3 separate regions of the Homo sapiens genome follow, and regions 1 and 3 are each linked to region 2. The links are contacts of gene promoters, found by promoter capture Hi-C in human tissues and cell types (Jung and others, 2019). All regions are on one chromosome and are shown on one strand. The core of a region is centred on a gene start or on the middle of the fragment in contact, and the rest is flanking DNA. Distances in the headings are between cores, read along the strand shown. Region 1 overlaps LCOR (ligand dependent nuclear receptor corepressor). Region 2 holds the start of TM9SF3 (transmembrane 9 superfamily member 3). Region 3 overlaps LCOR (ligand dependent nuclear receptor corepressor).

Region 1 (2,700 bases), core at 128-2,627, 400 kb before region 2:
GATCAGACAGAGAGGAGGTAAGTGGAAGGAACTGAGCAGCTTCGGTTCAATCCCAAGGCAAAAGCCTGAGCAAGGACACACTCCACAAAGTGCTCAGGGTGGTTCCCCGGGCCCCAGGACGGCATGACACAGCACAGCACAGCAAAGCCCTGAGAGCTCTGAGTTTCTGCCTGAGTCTAATTATCTATAAAGGAAAGAGACTGGATCCTCAAGTCTTCCAATCCATCCATTGTAGAATACAGGACTCTGTTCTGATGTTTCAAAGGATGAATTATATTGAAGGCTGCCTCAAAAGACTTCCCAGTCTGGGCAACACAGTGAGACCTCATTTCTGCTAAAACTGGAAAAAAAAAAAAAATTAACTGGGTGTGGTGGCATGCACCTGTAGTCCCAGCTACTCAGGAGGCTGAGGTGTGAAAATCTCTTTGAGCCTGCAGTGGGCGTCATAAAAATGAAGATGACTATACTTTCAAAAAACTGTACTTTTAAACTACATACCCTAATAGATAAGACCATATGCCCATTGCACTCCAGCCTGGGGCGACAGAGTGAGACCCTGTCTGGGGGCTGGGCAGGGGGAGGGGAAGGCCCTCCCACAATTCTGCTCGTTTTAAATACAATAATCTTTTTATTTTTCCCCTGAAAAGGATTTGAGAGCAAGCATGGGGAATAGCACTTACTGCTAGGATATGAAGACCGCCTTACACAGATCAATTTTATACTTAAAAAAAATTCCAGTATTTCAGTGGATATCAAGTCACAATAAGACATCAAAGTAATACTAAGAATTCAAAATGATAATTGTTTCAAAACAACTAAAACGATCAGTGATTTGGGGCCACTGACAAAAATTTTTCACTGACAGGACATTGAATCACATTAAAAAAAAACCAGCATAGAAACTCATACTTGGGTTGGTGCGGTGGCTCACTTGTAATCCCAGCACTTTGGGAGGCTGAGGTGGGAGCACTGCTTGAGGCCAGGAGTTTCAGATCAGCCTCGGCAACATAGCGTAACCTCGTCTCTATTAAAAAAAAAAAAAAAAAAAAAAAATATATATATATATATATATATCCTTATCCTTGAGTTTTTGGAAAAGGAGGAAGACTATAATAGCTTTTCAGTCATACTCTGGTTATAACTCCAATTTTTTAAATCAATATTAAAGCACTTCAAAAGCCTCTATGTTTTATTTGTTGGCTTACCTTTAATAAAATTATTTTGAAAGTATGTGGCTGAAAAGGTATCAGTACCAAAATATTATATAAGAATAAACAAAGCTTTGGGATTGTGATCAGACTTTGTTTCTACTCTGTGAAAAAACATTTTCCATATCTAAATGTGACATTCAGAGGACTAAAAGTCCAACTAAAGTAGTCTCAACTAATTTTACCAGAAACAAAATCTTGGCTTACTTTAATAAACAAGAAATAAAGCCAGAGTCAGTTCTGTGTGAGTGAAATGAGAGGCCCAGGCCACATAATTTTAGAACTCTGAATCCCTATTTGCTCATGGGTTCCGGCTCGATACGGTAAGGTGGCCTCATTTTGGCTACTGTGATGGTTTTTTTTAAGAAGATGGAATGCTAAGGTTGCTCAAGTTTAAGGGGATAGTAGTGCATATCGATATAACATGTCTCCTTTGAAAAGAAAAAATGGAGACAAGGAAAATGAGAAGTAAAGAAGAACAGAGAGAAAAGGGCAGAAGAGAGAAGGAAAATCAAGAATATTTGTTCCTGAAAAGGATGACTTTCTCAAGCAGGGATCAGCAGATGTTTTCTGAAGGTCCAGATAGTATCTTAGGCTGTAAGGGCCACACGGGTCTCTGCCGCAGCTACTCAACTCTGCTCTTGCAGTGCGAAAGCAGCCGCAGACAGAACTTAAGAAAATGGGTGTGGCTATATTCCAAACACATTTTATTTACACAAACAAGCGACCAGCCCACAGTTGGCAGACCCTTGACAGATCATCTGGAATCCGAAAGGCAGTCTGCACAGAACTTGCTGATAGTAACACTACAGCATCTCCAGCTTGTATCACATAGCATGCTATATTTTCCTACTTGGCTCTTAGGTCCACTAATCAACAGGAATGCTGCCCATAAATGTGAATGACAGCTCCCACCCTCATGACCGAACCCATTACAAAGCAGGAAAAGAGGCCAAACCTCAATTCAAAGTAATTATCTTGAAGTGATGCCTTTTACTGATGACCTATCTGAACAGTGAGAAATTCACCTGCATAGTATGTGATGCATAGAGATCCCATTAGAAAGCACCACATATGTAAAGGGATGACTAAGGGCACCTCTTCTATCCATACGATTTTAGGAACAATACAGCAGGAGACTCACAGCCTAAGATTATCATTTTAGATAAGGCTGCACAGAAGTCTTTAACAAGGAATCCAAGGGGCTAGTGACTGGTGACTTACAGAAACTGACAGCATTCCTATGAAGGAAGCCTCAGGAGCAGAATAAAGGTTCACAACCTTCCTGCTGTGCTGCAAGATTGTTACCTGTCTGAGGAAGTGCTAGGGGTGAGGCTCAGGACCCCAAGTGAGGGAGTGGTCTCCTGCATGTCCATCTATAGCAGGGAGTCTCGTAGGATAGAAGATGGGTGTCCTGAAGAGGGCCCTCCTCTACGGGAGCTATGGCAGAGCTTCAGTGATTGCTTCCCAGGCATCTTCCAGCTTCTCCAGA
Region 2 (2,978 bases), core at 219-2,718:
AGTTTGTTATAATCTTTCAGATTGTTTTCTATGGGCAGACTAACATATTGCCATATAAAATGAAGTTAAACTCTTATTTTCTTCAACTTGAAAATTTAACAGAACCTCTTGGTTATCATTCCATGCCAGTACTTACCTATTTCCTTTTTTTAAAGTGGCTGTATAGTTGGTAAATCATTACCAGCAAAAAGACCTATTATGGAGCCAGACTGAGTGGGTCTGGTGTTTCAGCAAGCCACTCAAGCTCTCTGTGCTTCAGTTACCTCATCTGTAACAGGAACATTTTCACCGTACCTGCTGCATAGGGTTTCTGTGAGAATTTAATGAGCCAATATCGTTCAGAATAGTGCCTGGCAGATGAACGCCCTCGTGGTGACTCCATGATTTATTTACCTAACATTGAAGAACTGTTTTAAGCAAGGGAGTGAGCGATATAATCTGGTTTCTTTTTAGAATAAAAAAAACATCACCCTGGCACCTGTTGGGGATGTTAAACGGGAGGAAGATCAGTCAGTGATGGATATCTTCTTGTGAGACTCTTGCAATACATAGTGATACGGAAGACTGGTTGGTACTGGCAGAGGAAGGAGAGGAAAAATAAACTCTTGAACCACTTTTAAGAGACCAAATGCTAGAACTTGTTGACTGCTGATGGCTGAGAAGAGACAATCTGACAAGTTCGAGATTTTTGGCTTAGTGGCCTGTGTAAATGGTGGTGCCACATTCGTATATTTTTTTTTTTTTAAAGATTTTTTGTTTCAGTGTCTACTACGGATCTGGCACTGTTCTAGGTACAGGAAATACGGAAACAGGATCTCTGCTCCGAGGAGCTTACACTCCAAGAGATATTTATGACTGGGAAGAGGAGACCCAGAAATAGTTAAGTAAACACATAAATGAACAAGAATGGCAAGCTAACTTAGCATGTCTTGATTGAACAGTAGGGGTCCAGTAAATATTCAGTAACTTTAAAACATCCAACCCTGTACGAGTTTAACAATCTCTCCTAACGGTGATTACAGGAGCCCGTGATTCATTCACAGCGGCAGACGAGCGCCAGGAAAGGGTTATTTGATCTGATCCCTCAAGTTCCGGAGGCAGCAGGTCAGACGATCGGCCCCATTTGGCAGCCAGGAAAAAAGCTTAAGCATTTTGGCCAAGGTTACACAACCCGAAACACCGGGACGCGGCCCGGAGGCGGCTTCGGCCTTGCGGTCCAGGCTAGGCCACTGCGCCGGGGCCCAGCCTGCTCGGCGCCCGCCCGAGTGCTCGGCAGGCCCGTAGCGCCGCGGCTCCCAGGAGCCGAGGGGCAGCCGGCGCGCAGGCGGCGGTTGCCGGGCCCTCCCTCGGCCCGGCGGCGGTGGCGGCCCCGCGTCGCGAGGCACTTCCGGCGCGTGCCGGGGTGGCCGGATGACGTGGCTGAGTCAGAGGAAGAGGCTGAGGAGGCGCGGGGGGCGGGGGAGGCTCAGGAGCGGGCGGTGACGGCGACGGCGGCGGCAGAGGAGGCAGCGGCTGGGCCGGGCCCCGTGCGTCTGTCCGCGCCCCGTGGATGCGAATCGGCCGCGGCGGAGGCGGCGGCGGCGGAGGAGGCGGCGGCGGGAGGAGGAGTCGGTGAGCCGGCTCCGGGCCGGAGGGGCGCGGAGGATGAGGCCGCTGCCTGGCGCTCTTGGCGTGGCGGCGGCCGCCGCGCTGTGGCTGCTGCTGCTGCTGCTGCCCCGGACCCGGGCGGACGAGCACGAACACACGGTGAGGCGCCCCGGCCGGCGCGGCCGCCCCGGGCTAGCTCCCCAGTTGCCCACTGAGGCAGGCCCCACGCAGCCTGGAGTGCCCGGCGGCCCGGTGGTGCCCCACTGCGGCCCGAGGACTCCTTCCGGTTGGGCCTGGCGGAGCAGGAACCTTGGGAGCGTGGAGGAGGCATTTCCGTGCGCTCCCGGGACAGGGCTCCGCTCCCGAGTGACAGGGTCTCCTTCCCCCGGTCTGGGCCTCAGTGGCGCCGCACCCCAGGGTCTCGGGGTTCCTGGGACCCTGGGGCCAGGAAGGAGCCTGGGAAGGGTTGAGGTTCATCCACCGCGGGAGCGGGGCAACGGGCAGGCTGGGCTCGGGGCTTTTGCCCCCCAGGGAAGGAGACTGCCTTCTGGCTACTGAGGGCTGCGACGCCGAGGAAGATGGATGCATCGTGATTACCCGGCAGCCACTAACCAGGAAATATCCTACACTTTATGGTCTCCTTTGGCTTTTATCGCCCGCTTCTGCCCAGACCGGATTAAAACCCTGGGGTGGGGCAGCATTAATAAACTTGAATTGAAGAGCAGTTTATACTTACTTGTAAGTGCACCCAACCTACACGCGTTCAATTCCTAGGCCTTTCTTGTAACTTTCTCCTCACCTTCCAGCCCCTAAGTGAGACCCCCATCCCGATAGTCTCTAACTAAGGCAGCTTCTGACAGTAAAGGGTCTTGACGTTTCCCAGTCTTCAGGTCAGGGCCAGAAACAGTCCCTTTTGCATTTGGCCTAAAGGTGATTGGCAGTTTGTTTAATTGGTATTCTCACATCAAAACGTGCATGTGAACGACTCTTCAAATGGCTTTCACTTAGGGCTGTAACTGTGGTTTTCAGAGTGGTAGACTTGAGCAAGGCAGGAAGGTCAGGTAAATTGAGAGTTTGCTTGACGAGTAATTGTTTTTTATACCTTTACCATTAATGATAGGAGTTTCTATGAGAGACTGTGTTTGTACTAAATCAGAACGATCTGAGGGAGTCTTATGTCATTTCTGGTAAGTGAGGAAATGAAGCAGTCGTCCTTACCTATTTAATGGATCCGATTTTATTTGTAATCAACAAAACTTTTCGCTGGATCCTTGGCTAGCTGGGATCTTATTTTAGCTAATAAAAGCTCTAAACTTTTGACTGTTCTACCTTCGGTCACAGCCAGAAACTTCTTACCTGTGTAGGTATGTATTTCTTTAGAGACACAAATC
Region 3 (2,828 bases), core at 221-2,720, 360 kb before region 2:
GTCTTGATACTGATGAGAGCCTGGAAGTACAACCATTTTTTACTACAACTAGACCAAATCACAAATTCATGTTATTAATATATAAAATTAGAAGACTTTCTTTTCCCTCAAAGACGTTTTTCTCCTTGTTGAAATACCTGGAAAAGAAGTCTTTTAAAGCTACCACTCTGTCCAAAATTAACAGAACAAGATAATACACAATGTCTTTAATTTTCAGTTGGCCAGTAGAGGGGTCGTGCTATCTAGTTGTGTTAAAAATCACCCCAGAGTAGAAGCTACTTACAACTTGTATCTGAGGACATTTTATTTCCGGCTGTTAGAAATAAACAGGCAACAGAGTTTGTAAATAAAAAAACCCCACACTCATAAGAAAGAGTTTTGTCCTTTACAGTCACTAGTACTTCTAAAAATATAATTATAAGCTTATAGAACCAATTATCCTATTAGACATCTAACCCAATTATACATCTAAGAAGCAAATGTACTACTGCTTACAACTTTTCCAACCAAAGACACTATTATTTAAACGCAAGTCAAATAGACAATTTGTCTAATCAAACAGGCAACATATTTTAAATCTACCACTAAAAATATTGTGGTTTTTGGCTGAAAACACATTCATTAAGGAAATATAATTTAAAATTTTTTTACTTCATTTGAAGTCTACACACTATAATGCTATCATGTAGTTCAAATTCCTCTTTTTAAGAGCATGCTGTCAATACAATGTATTGATCTCTTAAGTGTAACATTAGTTATAACAAGTTAAATTAGATTAAGTGGTATCATTTTATGTTAACCTCCATTAATACTTTAAATATTATTCTATGTTGTCATTCTCCTAATATAAACCTGAAACTTCTGATGCAATATTTAGAGTGAGGAGATCTTTAATGAAAACTACCAATTTGTGGAAAAGAAAACAGTCATCAATAAAAGATACAACTTTGTAAATATGGTAACCAAAGGAACATGAGCAATGTGAACAAGTAGGAGGTCTCCTGTCAAGAAATCTCTCAGAACTCAGATGTTTTGTTTGCTGTTCACCACACAGGAAAAGGATAAAAGCAAAGGAAAACTACTCAAAAGAAAGTTCATTTCAAAGAGGTTAAGAATTAAATTTATTTTCCAAAATAAACATGTATTTCTCACCAATAAATCCAATAAATAAAGGTTACAATAAATCTCGTAACCTTTCTGTATACTCAAGATTTCTATGACAATAAAATCTCATTAGTACAGACATCACCAATTTACAATTCGTAGTGGTTCAAACAGTGGCTGAGTTGAAATGCTTGCTTCAATTTTTGTGAAATTAAAGGTAAAATGAGATCACAAAGCAACAGGAATATCTACTGAAGAAAATAAACTTCAGAGACTCAAGAAACATTTGCTAAACAAAACTAATAACCTCTTAACTTCATCACTTAATTAGTGTCCTCATCAACAAATTCCCTTTTGGAAATACTTTCAAGTTAGTCAGTGGATGTGTGTGTTTATATATGTGTTTCTGTATTTATAAAACATTGAATATATTTAACAACCTAAAGTATGTTCTGCTGCTTTCTCTATTTGTAACCCTAGCAGTTTCTTTCTCAAAATTCGAATACATGTTTTTCCTTATGATCTCATTTGCAGAGTATATAACTTATACCTGCAAGTAGAGGCATATTTCTCAGACAGGTGCTAGTCCTAGAAAATTTTTAGTTAATAAGAAAACTTACTTTTTCATAGGAGTTTTAAAAAACATAAAAATACTATGGAAAATATAAAATGCTTATATAAATATCAAGTAACTGAAAGATTAGTGACAACTGTTAACCACCTGACTTTCCTGAGTGGTACATCAATCATGACTATGAACTGCTGACAGATAAGGCTGTAACAACTTTAGCTGTACTTCTCCATCACTGCATAGTAAGAAATAATTTAAGAATCACATTAGTTTTTATGCTATTATTGCTGCTGATGCTCTACTTGCCAATGCTTTTTTTTTTCTCCCCAAAGTAAAGTATTCTGATAAGATAGAGGAGACCTTGACATCAAACCATACCTTGTTCGCTAGGTTCTGACTGAGACTTTCTGACAGTAAGGTCCAGAGGTGAGTCTTGGTCAGCCATGAGAAGTTTGCTGAGCACAGGGTTCTGAGTAGTTGCAGCCGTGGGAGAGGTGGTGACTGGAGATGCTTTCGGCAGGCTTTGGTTCTTTGTGCTATTGGGCTGGCTGGGGTCCTGAGTAGAGCTATTTTTTGAGGTATATTCAGCAGCAAATTGTTGGATCATTCGCTGCATGATCTCACGGGCCACTAGGGGAATATTGGGGTCGGAGACCCAGGGACTGTCTGTAAATAAAGATTTATTTACTTTTAAAGTGGGACAATGTACTAAAAAAGACAGCTTTCAAGTAAACATAAAATTTCATTTTATTTTTCTTAAAATGCAGTTATCTTAAAAATAGTATCTCCCCTTTGACTTATGTTTTCTAAGCTTTTGAGTTGTCTATTTTTAAAAATAAAATTTTTATTAAAATAATTCTAAACATCTTCCCCCATATAATAATTGAATATTATGAAATTAAATAAAGGGATAACAACTAGAATATCTTATGGGCAAGAATCACTTACCTGATACAGAAATCCCAAAACCCTTCACTTAGGAAATACTCTCATGTTAACACACCTATAGGTCACATCAAGTAACCCTAGACTTTTTCCTCAGCCACCTTCTCCTAAATATTTGAAGAATGCATTACTGAGTTCATGAGTGCTTAATTTACTTTATATTAAAGACAGAAGGCATACCAAGATTATAAAAGGAGATACTTAATTT

The links. Contacts are between HindIII fragments. The study calls those that stand out against the background at their distance.
Region 1: a contact is called between a fragment that was not itself captured here and the fragment with the promoter of TM9SF3 in region 2, in 1 of the 25 tissues and cell types used here (lymphoblastoid cells).
Region 3: a fragment that was not itself captured here is called in contact with the fragment with the promoter of TM9SF3 in region 2 in 1 of the 25 tissues and cell types used here (hippocampus).

Annotation. Positions count from the first base shown.
Region 1 is chr10:96,988,049-96,990,748 of GRCh38, reverse strand. It overlaps LCOR (ligand dependent nuclear receptor corepressor), which reads right to left. Exons shown (of 8, transcript NM_001346516.2): 8 at 1-2,700. Among named protein-coding and RNA genes, the nearest start is that of SLIT1-AS1, 110 kb to the left of the region's middle. The HindIII fragment of the contact is 6,513 bases long and covers 1-2,700 here.
Region 2 is chr10:96,585,502-96,588,479 of GRCh38, reverse strand. It overlaps TM9SF3 (transmembrane 9 superfamily member 3), which reads left to right and starts at 1,468. Exons shown (of 15, transcript NM_020123.4): 1 at 1,468-1,746. The coding sequence starts at 1,645. LOC105378443 (a long non-coding RNA gene) reads right to left here and starts at 1,416. Exons shown (of 3, transcript XR_946220.4): 1 at 137-1,416. RefSeq lists an enhancer at 301-360 and a silencer at 1,239-1,808. The HindIII fragment of the contact is 5,763 bases long and covers 1-2,978 here.
Region 3 is chr10:96,948,521-96,951,348 of GRCh38, reverse strand. It overlaps LCOR (ligand dependent nuclear receptor corepressor), which reads right to left. Exons shown (of 8, transcript NM_001346516.2): 6 at 2,054-2,341. The coding sequence starts at 2,291. Among named protein-coding and RNA genes, the nearest start is that of LCOR, 120 kb to the right of the region's middle. The HindIII fragment of the contact is 5,356 bases long and covers 1-2,828 here.